Linked DNA regions of Homo sapiens: region 1 is linked to region 2. Evidence: promoter capture Hi-C in 16 types of primary human blood cells and fetal thymus (Javierre and others, 2016). All regions are on one chromosome and are shown on one strand. Each heading gives the region's core, a stretch centred on a gene start or on the middle of the fragment in contact. The rest is flanking DNA. Distances are from core to core; before and after follow the strand shown.

The links. The method cuts DNA at HindIII sites, captures the fragments that hold promoters and counts their contacts. A CHiCAGO score of 5 or more calls a contact.
Region 1: a contact is called between a fragment that was not itself captured here and the fragment with the promoter of PAN2 in region 2, in 1 of 17 cell types (erythroblasts). The highest score is 6.1, in erythroblasts.

Annotation. Positions count from the first base shown.
Region 1 is chr12:56,608,417-56,614,444 of GRCh38, reverse strand. BAZ2A (bromodomain adjacent to zinc finger domain 2A) reads left to right here. Exons shown (of 29, transcript NM_001300905.2): 4 at 307-492; 5 at 1,212-1,430; 6 at 2,199-2,672; 7 at 2,812-2,872; 8 at 3,928-4,036; 9 at 4,230-4,331; 10 at 4,499-4,709. Among named protein-coding and RNA genes, the nearest start is that of BAZ2A, 19 kb to the left of the region's middle. The HindIII fragment of the contact is 1,811 bases long and covers 1,970-3,780 here.
Region 2 is chr12:56,331,715-56,337,735 of GRCh38, reverse strand. It overlaps PAN2 (poly(A) specific ribonuclease subunit PAN2), which reads left to right and starts at 3,736. Exons shown (of 26, transcript NM_014871.6): 1 at 3,736-3,874; 2 at 4,528-4,923. The coding sequence starts at 4,642. RefSeq lists enhancers at 117-964, 3,299-3,468, 3,386-3,605, 3,731-3,900 and cis regulatory regions at 3,815, 3,800-3,831. The HindIII fragment of the contact is 11,393 bases long and covers 1-6,021 here.

The DNA of each region.
Region 1 (6,028 bases), core at 1,626-4,125, 280 kb before region 2:
CACCACTCTGTAAAATTACAGGATGTTTTCTCGTTTCCCAATGGATGGAGGAGATATCTGAGAACATGATAGAGATGTTGTATCAGACCCCACTCTCTTTTCCTCTCTTTGCCTGCTGTAGGATTGATTTTACCAGCACATCTCTGCTCAGAGTATCTTGATGTGATCGGTTCCCAGCAATGAACTGGCCGCAATAAATGTTGAATGAATGAACATCCTTCTAGCAAAGATTGACTGCCTAGTATAGCTAAGTGAACCAATATAAGGCACTGATTTTGACTTTTGGTCTCTCCTGTGATTTCCTAGAACTGAAGATGTGTGGCTACAATGGCTCTGTCCCTTCTGTGGAATCGTTACACCAAGAGGTCTCAGTCCTGGTCCCTGACCCCACAGTGAGCTGTTTAGATGATCCTTCACATCTTCCTGATCAACTGGAAGACACTCCAATCCTCAGTGAAGACTCTCTGGAGCCCTTCAACTCTCTGGCACCAGGTAGGTTTGGAGGCTATGTCCCTTTAACTTATCCATGCAGAGTAGCCAAACTTTACCTGAAAGAGACAGTAAAATGGGAAAAGTATTAGGCAATCAGGGGCACTGGGGCTTCCAGGTAGGCCTAAGGCAGACCACAGTTACATGCCACAGGACTTGGTGCCCTAACTGAATTCTGAGCTGAATTGGTTCATGTCCCAGGTTCTTTCCCAGTATTCCTTTTGGCCAAGAGCTCTGGGCTGTAATAATTCACTGGGTAGGGACTTATTATCACACAGTTGATCTTTCTGGGTTCTGACAAACTAGGAAGAAAACATTTGTCAGTGAGCAGTTACCTTTTACTCCACTGAAGTACAAGAAAGACATATTTTATGATAAATCCTAGAATTTTGCATAGGTCTCTGGGTAGATAATACCACCAATGCCTTTCCTTTCATTTTCACCTTGTAGAGATGAGGTCTTGCTATGTTGTCCAGGCTGGTCTTGAACTCTGGCCTCAAGCAATTCTTCTGCCTCGGCCTCCCCTCAAACTTTTATGATCCCTATAATCTCATGACTACTCTTTCAGGGAGAAGGCTTTACTTGTTACCTAACTTAATATTAGGAAGAATCTTCACATTGTGGGAACTAGAATTGGATGTTTTCTGACCAGTGTTTCTTAAATCTTGCTTTCTGATTTTTTTCTCATTATCCTGCTCTGATTTTTCTACCCTTGTAAACAGAGCCAGTGAGTGGAGGACTATATGGTATTGATGACACGGAGCTGATGGGTGCAGAGGACAAGCTGCCTCTTGAGGACAGCCCTGTGATTTCTGCCCTTGATTGCCCTTCCCTCAATAATGCTACTGCCTTCAGTCTCCTGGCAGATGATAGTCAAACATCAACCTCTATCTTTGCCAGTCCCACCTCTCCACCTGTCCTAGGGGAGTCTGTCCTGCAAGGTAAGTGACGGTAGGTAGGACAAAGAAAGACCTTTACCTGAGAAAAGATGAGAGAATAAGTTTCATAGTTAGGGCCTTAAGAGTGGGAAATCTGGCTGGGCGCAGTGGCTCACGCCTGTAATCTCAGCACTTCGGGAGGCCGAGGCGGGTGGATCACCTGAGATCAGGAGTTTGAGACCACCTGGCCAACATGGTGAAACCCCGCCTCTACTAAAAATACAAAAATTAGCCAGGTGTGTTGGCACATGCCTGTAATCCCAGCTACCTGGGAGGCTGAGGCAGGAGAATCGCTTGGCCCCAGGAGGCAGAGGTTGCAGTGAGCCGAGATTGTGTCGTTGCACTCCAACCTGGGCAACAGAGCAAGACTCCATCTCAAAAAAAAAGTAGGAAAGCAAGAGCACCTTGCTGGGAGCTGAGGGGCTATGGGATAGTGTATGGTGGAACTAAAAGAGGTATAGGCTGCTATACTCCGACCTGTGCCCTCTGCTTTGAAGAACTTGTGAGACTTGGAATTTGTAGGGAGAAGGAGGCTAGAAGCTTTATTGGCACCAGGTAAAAGGTATTTCTTCACACAATGACATCTGTAGCAACTTTACCCTTTAATCCTCATGATTGGTTGGGAGAAAAAGCTACTTCTTTTTCCAACCCTAGGGAAGACCCCTTGAAGTAACCCTGTTTAGCTTGGTCCAGGGTTGACTGAGTAGATTCTCTTGTTTTATGTGATGCCTTTTTTTTTTTTAAAGCCTATCCTGTCCCTTTGGATTCTAGATAACAGCTTTGACCTGAATAATGGTAGTGACGCTGAACAGGAAGAAATGGAAACTCAATCTTCAGACTTCCCACCATCCCTGACCCAGCCAGCTCCTGATCAGTCATCCACTATTCAGCTACATCCAGCAACCTCACCAGCAGTCTCGCCAACAACCTCCCCAGCAGTCTCCCTAGTGGTTTCTCCAGCAGCCTCCCCAGAAATCTCTCCAGAAGTTTGTCCCGCAGCTTCTACAGTTGTCTCTCCAGCAGTCTTCTCAGTGGTCTCTCCAGCTTCCTCAGCAGTCCTCCCAGCAGTCTCCTTAGAAGTCCCGTTGACGGCTTCAGTGACATCCCCAAAAGCCTCTCCCGTAACTTCCCCAGCAGCTGCCTTTCCAACAGCCTCCCCAGCAAATAAGGATGTCAGCAGCTTTCTAGAAACCACTGCTGACGTGGAAGAGATCACTGGAGAAGGACTCACTGCTTCTGGTAGTGGTGAGTATCCAGATTCTATTCTATCCCTGTCTGGTTCCAAGAAACTTTTCTGTCCCATGTTGTAGTTAGCCTTTCCCTATTGGCCTATTGTTTAAATATTTTGCTTGAACTCTTAACTTGGGTATCCCTTCCTCCCAAGGTGATGTCATGAGGAGACGTATTGCTACCCCAGAAGAAGTTCGTCTTCCCCTCCAACATGGGTAAATGCTCTAGTTTGCTACATTTATTGACCTTGACAAGTTTAATGCACAACTCTAGAAAGAAGGGAATGCCTCTTTTCCTCTGAGGTGGGGGAGGAATGGGCCAGACAAGAGTAGATTACAGGACAGTTATCTGCAGTGATAATGTTTCTTGGCATGAGATTCCTAGGTTTTCCTTCTTCTCTCAAGGTCTGTCTTCCATCACCTATTCTTTTTTCATCTTGTAGTGACTCAATTTTGCCCAAGGAGCTCCAGCTATTATCTTTTCCAAACCCTAGGGCTCACATCCAAACCAGCTGGCTTGTCCTATTTCTGTGGACAAGGGATAGTAATGAATGAGGAGTGACTTAGTACTAATGAATTGAGGTGGTTTTGTTGTTTTAATGCTCTTAGGAGAGGTAAGGGCAGGAACAGTACATGACCAAAATGAACAAACTAGCTGACACCAGGGCCTTGTGGAAATAACTGCCTTCCTGGATCTTCCCCACCCCTGCCCCTCAAGGCTACTTGTGGTCACCAAGTCTGAGTACTGCTTAAAATTTTGAGAGAAAGATTAGAGTTAGTCTTAGAACTAACTCTGACTAACTTTGTGTTCTGCTCAGAACACAGAGTTCCTAACTAAACCCTGGCATATTGAGTCTTTTCATGGAATCAGCAGCAAATTTATTTTTCTGCTTGCCTCCCTGCCCTTTGTCTTCTGTCTTTATTCCCCTTAGGTCTTTATCCTCTTTACTGGAAATCCAGTAACTGCCCTGAATGGCTCAGGGAGGGGTTTCTGGCAGCTTATCTCACTGATTTTGTAAAGGAGGGATGGAGATCTCTCTGAGCTTGTGCAGTTTGGTGTAGTGCTTTTCTCCTAAGGGCCTTGATGTATTTGCTGGAGCTCAAGTCAGCCTTCTAGCCAAGCTTATCTCTCTTGGTGCTTTTGCATCTGCATGCAGTTCTAGAGATACAAATGTGGGGAGGGCCATCTGCTCAGAGGGCTTCGCGCTTAGGTGGCATGGGAGTGGGTAGGGGTGTGACCTGGCGGCAGGGCCCATGTGCTTCTCTGGCAGGTGGCGGAGAGAGGTGCGCATCAAGAAGGGCAGCCACCGATGGCAGGGGGAGACCTGGTATTATGGCCCCTGTGGGAAGAGGATGAAGCAATTTCCAGAAGTGATCAAGGTAATGTAGCTTTTTTTAAAGGACTGCTTTCTTGGGCTCAGTGGACTCCTTTCCACTGCCCAAGACTCCGTTCTTGGGCTCAGTGACAACAGGCTGGCATTGTCTGCTCTGGGCCTGTTCTGCTTATGCCTTTGCTGGCCAAAGACATGGTAGGATCCAACTTTATTAATGTTACTTTACTTCTTCCTCTTAGTACCTGAGCCGCAACGTGGTACACAGTGTCCGCCGAGAGCACTTCAGCTTCAGTCCCCGTATGCCTGTTGGAGATTTCTTTGAAGAAAGAGACACGCCAGAGGTGCAGACCCAAGGGTTAAATATGCTTTTGTCCCTGAGGAAGAGTTGGTGGACAAGCTGCAGCTTCCTCTCGTGGGGTTTGAAGGTTCTGGGGCATTGAATGGTTCCGAGGGCCTCGTGGCCTGCACTGATTCCTTACTACTGTAACAGTCTCCCTTGCTACCTTAGGGCTTGCAGTGGGTGCAGCTCTCAGCAGAGGAGATCCCGTCGAGGATTCAGGCAATTACTGGCAAACGGGGTCGACCTCGAAACACTGAGAAGGCTAAGACTAAGGAAGTCCCCAAGGTGAAACGGGGTCGAGGTCGGCCACCTAAGGTCAAAATCACTGAGCTATTGAACAAGACAGACAACCGCCCCCTAAAGAAACTGGAGGCCCAAGGTACAGTGGTATTTCTTACTTTGGGATTCTGCTCCCTCCATGAGGTATCTAAAATGTTGATGAATTGCTAATACCTGGATTTCCCAGGAGTGTAACTAACATTATCTGGGAAGAATGAATCTGAATCAGCTTCTCCTTGGAATCCAGCATCCTAGTCCCAGCGCTTGGGAATACTACTTTTCCAGCCATGGTCTTTCTTGAGTTGCTGTTACCAGTGAAACCTTGGGCTGCCCCCAGGTGTGTTTAGCCCAGAGGAGAGGACTTTCTTGCCCTTTCTTTCCATCTTTTAGCTCCTTATCATATACTGGTTCAGTTGTACCCTTTTACCTTACCCATTTCTACTATCATGGAGGTTCAGAATTCACATCTGAATTCAAAAGATAATTGGGAGCCAGGCATGGTGGTGTGTGCTTAATAATCCCAGTTACCCAGGAGGCTGAGGCAGGCAGCAGAGGATCACTTGAGCCCAGGAGTTTGGAGGCTACAGTAAACTTCAGTTGTGTTATTGCATTCCAACCTGGGCAACAGAGCAAGGCCCTGTTTCTAAAAAAAATAATAGGCCGGGCACAGTGTCTCACACCTGTAATCCCAGCACTTCGGAAGGCCAAGGCGGGCGGATCGTGAGGTCAAGAGATTGAGACCATCCTGGCGAACATGGTAAAACCCCGTCTCTACTAAAAATACAAAACAAAAAATTAGCTGGGCGTGGTGGTGTGTGCCTGTAGTCCCACCTACTTGGGAGGCTGAGGCAGGAGAATAGCTTGAACCTGGGAGGTGGAGGTTTCAGTAAGCTGAGATTGCGCCACTGCACTCCAGCTTGGTGATAGAGCTAGACTCTGTCTCAAAAAAAAAAAAAAAAAAAAAAAAAGCCAGGCACGGTGGCTCACGCCTGTAATCCCACCACTTTGGGAGACTGAGGAGGGCAGATCACCTGAGGTCGGGAGTTCAAGACCAGCCTGACCAACATGAAGAAACCCTGTCTCTACTATAAATACAAAATTAGCCAGGCATGGTGGCGCATGCCTGTAATCCCAGCTACTCGGGAGGCTGAGGCAGGAGAATGGCTTGAACCCAGGAGGCAGAGGTTGCAGTGAGCTGAGATCACACCATTGCACTCCAGCCTGGGCAACAAGAGTGAAACTCCATCTCAAAATAATAATAATAATATAATAATAATAATAGGCACTGTTTTAGTGGATGGACAGGTGAGAAATACCTACATTTTTCAGTAAATAGTGTGTTTACCCTGGTGTAGTGTGAAGAATGTGAAAAAACTTAGTCTTTTGATTTTCACTCAGACATCTAGCCGTGTCATGTTT
Region 2 (6,021 bases), core at 2,487-4,986:
GCCATCGGTGACCACACAGCTGGCTCCCAAAGCCTCCCCCAAGAGGTTGACCCTTTTCTTCTGAGAAACTTGTCCTGAATGGAGGTCTCCCTTCCCTTAGAGCTATTCAAAACTGCCCAATGACACTTCTGGTTCAAATATTATGATTCTGTAGGTATGAGCTAAGAGAAGAAAAAAAAATATTACGATTCTAAGTTAAATCTACCAAGGGCCGGGTACAGTGGCTCACGCCTGTAATCCCAGTACTTTGGGAGGCCGAGGCAGGCGGATCATGAGGTCAGGAGTTCGAGACCAGCCTGGCCATCATGGTGAAATCCTGTCTCTACTAAAAATACAAAAATGAGCCAGCACGGTGGTGGGCGCCTATAGTCCCAGCTACTCGGGAGGCTGAGGCAAGAGAATCGCTTGAAGCCAGGAGGCAGAGGTTGCAGTGAGCCGAGATGGCGCCACTGCACTCCAGCCTGGGTGACAGAGCAAGACTCTGTCTCAAAAAAAAAAAAAAAAAAATGGAAATCTACCCTTTAGATTAAACATTTCCAGCATCAGAGAATTATCTGAGTTTGGGTGAGAACTGTTTTGCCTCTCTCCCTAATAAGGTGGACACCAATGGAATAAGGAAAGGGGAGGGGGCAGGATAGGGAGTTCACCTTACTTGTGTACAACGTCTCCTATGTTCTTCCCATCTCTGGTCCCCATTCTGGGAGCCCTAAAAGATAAGAGATGAAAGAAAGATGAAAAGGAGGAGGAAGTAGAGCCTGGGGGATGGGATGAGAGGGACAAGGGTGAGTTGGAGGCACAGGGCTCTGCCTCTTTGTTTCACTTCCTGGTGCTGCAGGAGTTGGGTAGGAAGAAGGGTTGGTGGGGAGATTGTGGGACTGTTGCGTGGCAGGAACTACATCCAGGGCTACAACTGACCTGGAGCTATAAGGAGCCCTTGACGTCAGCTGGGCCTAAACCGTTATGCAAATCGCATTCACAAGACACTCCTAGGCAGGTCTTTCCAGTTGTATGCCTAGACTCCAAATCAGTTGAAGTTCCCCCAGGTGGTTAATAATGATGGCTAATATATCCAACTCTCGCTTAATGCCAAATACTTTGTCTAAGCACTTTACATGTACTAAACTATTTAATTTTCACAACAACCCTTTAAGGTAGATACTATTACCCTATATTACAGAGGAGGAGGCTGAGGTGCAAAGATAAGCAATTTGCCCAAGATCACAGAGCTTCTAAGTGGCTAGAATTCCTTTTTTTTTTTTTTTTTTTTTGAGATGGAGTTTCGCTCTTGTTGCCCAGGCTGGAGTGCAATGGTGCCATCTCATCTCACCGTAACCTCTGCCTCCCGGGTTCAAGTGATTCTCCTGCCTCAGCCTCCCAAGTAGCTGGGATTACAGGCATGCACCACCATGCCCGGTGGCTAATTTTGTATTTTTAGTAGAAACAGGGTTTCTCCATGTTGGTCAGGCTGGTCTTGAACTCCCAATCTCAGGTGATCCACCCGCCTGCGGCCTCCAAAAGTGCTGGGATTACAGGCATGAGCCACCACACCCAGCTTAAGTGGCTAGAGTTCTAATGCAGACAATCTAGCATCAGATCCTGCATTCTTTTTTGTTCTTGGTTTTTGGGGGGTTTTGTTGAGACAGGGTCTCACTCTGTCACCCAGGCTGGAATGCAGTGGCACCATTTCCGTTCACTGCAACCTCCACCCCTGGGACTACAGGCACAAGCCACCATCCCGGTCTGGATCCTGAATTTTTAATCACTGCATTACACTGGATACTGTACGCCAGGTATGGTGGCTCATGCCTGTAATCCCAGAACTTTGGGGGGCCGAGGCAGGAGGATCGCTTGAGCTTAAGAGTTCAAGACCAGCCTGGGTAACGTGGCAAAACCCCACCTCTACAGGAAAAAAAAAATTATCTGGGTTTGGTGGCCAGTGCCTGTAGTTACAGCTAGTTGGGAGGCTGAAGTGGGAGGATCGCTTGAGCCCAGGAGGTTGAGGCTACAGTGAGTGAGAGGGCCAATGCGCTTAAGCATGGGCAACAGAGTGAGATCCTGTCTCAAAAAAAAAAAAAAAAAAAGGCTGGGCGCGGTGGCTCACACCTGTAATCCCAGAACTTTGGGAGGCCGAGGCAGGCAGATCACCATCTAATATTACTGTATTAGAAACAGTAATTACAGCTGAGCTAAATAATCTATGTCATGGATGCTCTTGTGTCTCCTCACAGTATCCTTTTTTCTTTTCTTTTTTTTTTTCTTTTTTTTGAGACGGAGTTTCGCTCTTACTGACCAGGCTGGAGTGCAATGGTGCCATCTCGGCTCACTGCAACCTCCGCCTCCCAGGTTCAAATGATTCTCCTGCCTCAGCCTCCCAAGTAGCTGGGATTACAGGCTCCCGTCACCAGGCCCGGCTAATTTTGTATTTTTAGTGGAGACGGGGTTTCTCCATATTGGTCAGGTTGGTCTCGAACTCCCGACCTCAGGTGATCCGCCCACCTCGGCCTCCCAAAGTGCTGGGATTACAGGCGTGAGCCACTGCGCCCGGCAGACATGGATTATTTAGCCCAGGTTATTAGGGATCTGTAACTCTCATGGGTCTGTTAAGTCTTTCTCAATTTGAGACCTCAAGATGGAGATTTCTTAAAGTGTAGGAACTGTCTATGTCTCTCAGCATCCACCTTTTTCGGAGATTCTATATCTAATGACCTGCGAAGTCAGATCAAATCAGTTTGAGAGACCATCTGTGTTTTTCTCTTGGTCTAGGCTCTAGGTAGGATCTCTGACTGGGTATAGGACCCCACCCCTCTGAGTCCTAGAAATTTAAATTCTTGGTTCCTTTAATGAAGGTCTATTTACCAGCCTTTATTGAGAGAAATGTTATAGAATTGAATCCTCCATGAGGAATGTCTCCCATCAGAGTCCCTTTATGTGGCCTTTAGAAACAGTAATAACAGCTGAGCTAAAGTGCTCTGAGACATCTCACAACCTAGACCCATTTCAAAGTAATTAGAGTTCACAGGACCCACGAATCCTTCAGAATAACAAGTCCCAATTTGCCATGCTCATCCCCCTCTGAGGGATAACGTCCAGCCAGCCTCAAGAGCTAGGGGAATTTGATAACCAGGGGCATCTTGTTACCCGGGAATGTTACCGGGGTCTCTGGGGAGGGAACAATCACGGATGGGAGTTTCAGATGGATGCCTGTAGAAGATGCAGCCACTTGGACTGTGTCAGGAGTCCGGCTCCCGCTTCCTTTTTTTTCTCTCCCATATCTGGAAATAATAGGAAATGCCAGCGAGTTTTGGGGGCAACAGGGTCAGAGGTGGCGGAGTGGCTCACTAGGGCACCGCAGGAAGAGGAGGTAGACTAAGCCCCGCTGGGAATACCCAACAGCGACTCCTAGTGCTTTGCCTTGTGTGTCCCTTATTTTAGAGTTCCTAAAGTTATAGAAAGCATAAAAGTTTGGTTTTCAAACCTAGACGTAATTTTGTTCAAGAAGACTAAAAACAGAGTTACTTTCTAACGCCACCCAACAAGTCCGGCGTCTGGCTGCGTTTGTCCCACCGGCGCCCCGTAACCTCTTTTTCCGGCGCGTGCGTCACACGCTCTCTCCTGGGGTCGCCGTACCTGGCTCCTTCTGATTGGCTTAGATGCGCCCGGAGCCCTTCTGATTGGCTAAAATATGCCCCGAGCCCTTCTTGATTGGAAGAAGCGCCTCGGACCCCGGTCCTTGGCGCCGTAGTGGTTAGGTTGAGCCCTAGGCGTGGGGGAGAACTGGGGAAACTGGAATTTCCCGCGGAGCTGACAGCGCTTGCGCTCCCCCTACTCGTTCTAATTCCACGCGCTCCAAAATATCCGCCATGGAGAAATCTTGGTAATGACCCATTCCCCGTAAGCATCCCAGGAACACATCTGACCCTTGCCCTATCCCCCTCCTCACCGCTGCCGTGGGAGAATTCTAGATAACCGATTTTTCTGGTTCCCCCAGAGAATTCTGGGTAACTAGCCGTTTCCGTCACCTTCCCCTGCCCCCGCCCCAATTGTGGGTAACTGGCCATTATTGTTTTCCTCTAGAGAATCCTGGGTAGCTATTGGAGAGGATTCTAGGAAACTGACTTCTCGTTCTCCCCACCGTCCAATCCACCCGTTTTCACCCCCAATTCTGGGAGAAAGCACCTTAAATCCCTCTACCTAACTCCAACCCCCGCAATTCTCGCTCCCTTCACCTGATGATTCAGGGCTGAACAAGGCAAGTGAGCAGTCCGAAGTGAGAAGAAAGGGAAGTCAAGGATTAGGTTAGATAATGGGGTGGTGGAGAGTACAGAGGGCCTAGCGGAGGAGGGATAGGGACAACAGTTCTACCACCTCCACCCCCACTGCCCATCCCTCCCCCGCCTGCTTCATCCTTTGGCTGGCAGTCTCATCCCTCATGCCTGCCTCATCTCCCTCCTGCCCCCATAACCTAGAAGACCCTAAGTACCAGTACCTGGGCCTACCCTTGACTCAGCTACCTCTTTCCCCTTACAGGCCAGGATGTCCATTCTAGGCCCATCGGTGCTGTCTTGCTGAAGGTTGGGTCAGGCATCTAAAGGGACTGTGGTAAGGGAGGGTGTGACACAGGTGTAAGCTGCCATCGTCATCATGAACTTTGAGGGTCTGGACCCTGGACTGGCAGAATATGCCCCAGCCATGCATTCTGCCCTGGACCCTGTCTTGGATGCCCACCTGAACCCAAGTCTGCTACAGAATGTGGAGCTGGACCCAGAGGGAGTGGCCTTGGAGGCTCTTCCCGTCCAGGAATCAGTGCACATAATGGAAGGTGTCTACTCTGAATTGCACAGCGTGGTGGCTGAAGTGGGTGTACCTGTTTCCGTCTCCCACTTTGACTTGCACGAGGAGATGCTGTGGGTGGGGAGCCACGGGGTAAGAACTGTACCCCTTTGTGAGGGTTGAAAGATGTTGAAGGTCTTTATCTGGTCTTAACCCAAGGAAGCTGCTTTGCAGATAGCCAGTACCGAGGAGTTGTAGTGATGAGACAGCTGGGTCTGGTTGGAGGGATAAAGGGAGAATCTAGGATCTAGGAGTAAATGACATATTCTTTCTCAGGAGGCATCCCTTTTTTTTTTTTTTTTTTTCGAGACAGGGTCTTGCTCTGTCGCCTAGGCCAGAGTGCAATGGCGTAATGTGATCATGGCTCACTGCAGCCTCAATCTCCTGGGCTCACACAATCCTCCCACTTTAGCATCTCAAGTAGCTGGGACTACAGGCATGCGCAACCAAGACCAGCTAATTTTTAAAAAATTTTTTAGTCTTACTATGTTGCCCAGGCTTGTCTCAAACTCCTGAGCTCAAATGGTCCTCCTGCATAGAGCTGCCAAAGTGCTGGGGTTACAGGTGTGAGCCACGGCACCTGGCCAGCATCCCACTTTTGTCACAATTGCCCATCCAGTGTTTTGATTTATCTTGATAGTTGTACCCATCACTTAGTCTGTAGCCATCCAAATCTAATCTCAATTGCTGTTGCCCCACCTGTGTTTTCTATTTTTATTATTATAGAATATTTAATGAATGATTCTGCATATCTTCCATTGAATCATTTTGTCTTCTCTGGCTGATTTTAATATCTCTCAGAGCAGTTATCAATCTTAATTTTTTAAAATCTGTACCCGTATTGCCAATATGCTATGGTGCCCAAAGACTTTGTAAGAAATACTGTGCTGTCCGGCCGGGACCGGTGGCTCACTCCTGTAATCCCAGCACTTTGGGAGGCTGAGGCAGGCGGATCACGAGGTCAGGAGATCGAGACCATCCTGGCTAACATGGTGAAACCCTGTCTCTACTAAAAATGCAAAAAATTAGCTGGGCATGGTGGCAGGCGCCTGTAGTCCCAGCTACTCGGAAGGCTGAGGCAGGAGAATCGCTTGAACCTGGGAGGCAGAGGTTGCAGTGAGCCGAGATCACGCCACTGCACTCCAGCCTGGGTGACAGAGCGAGACTCCGTCTCAAAAAAAAACAAAAAAC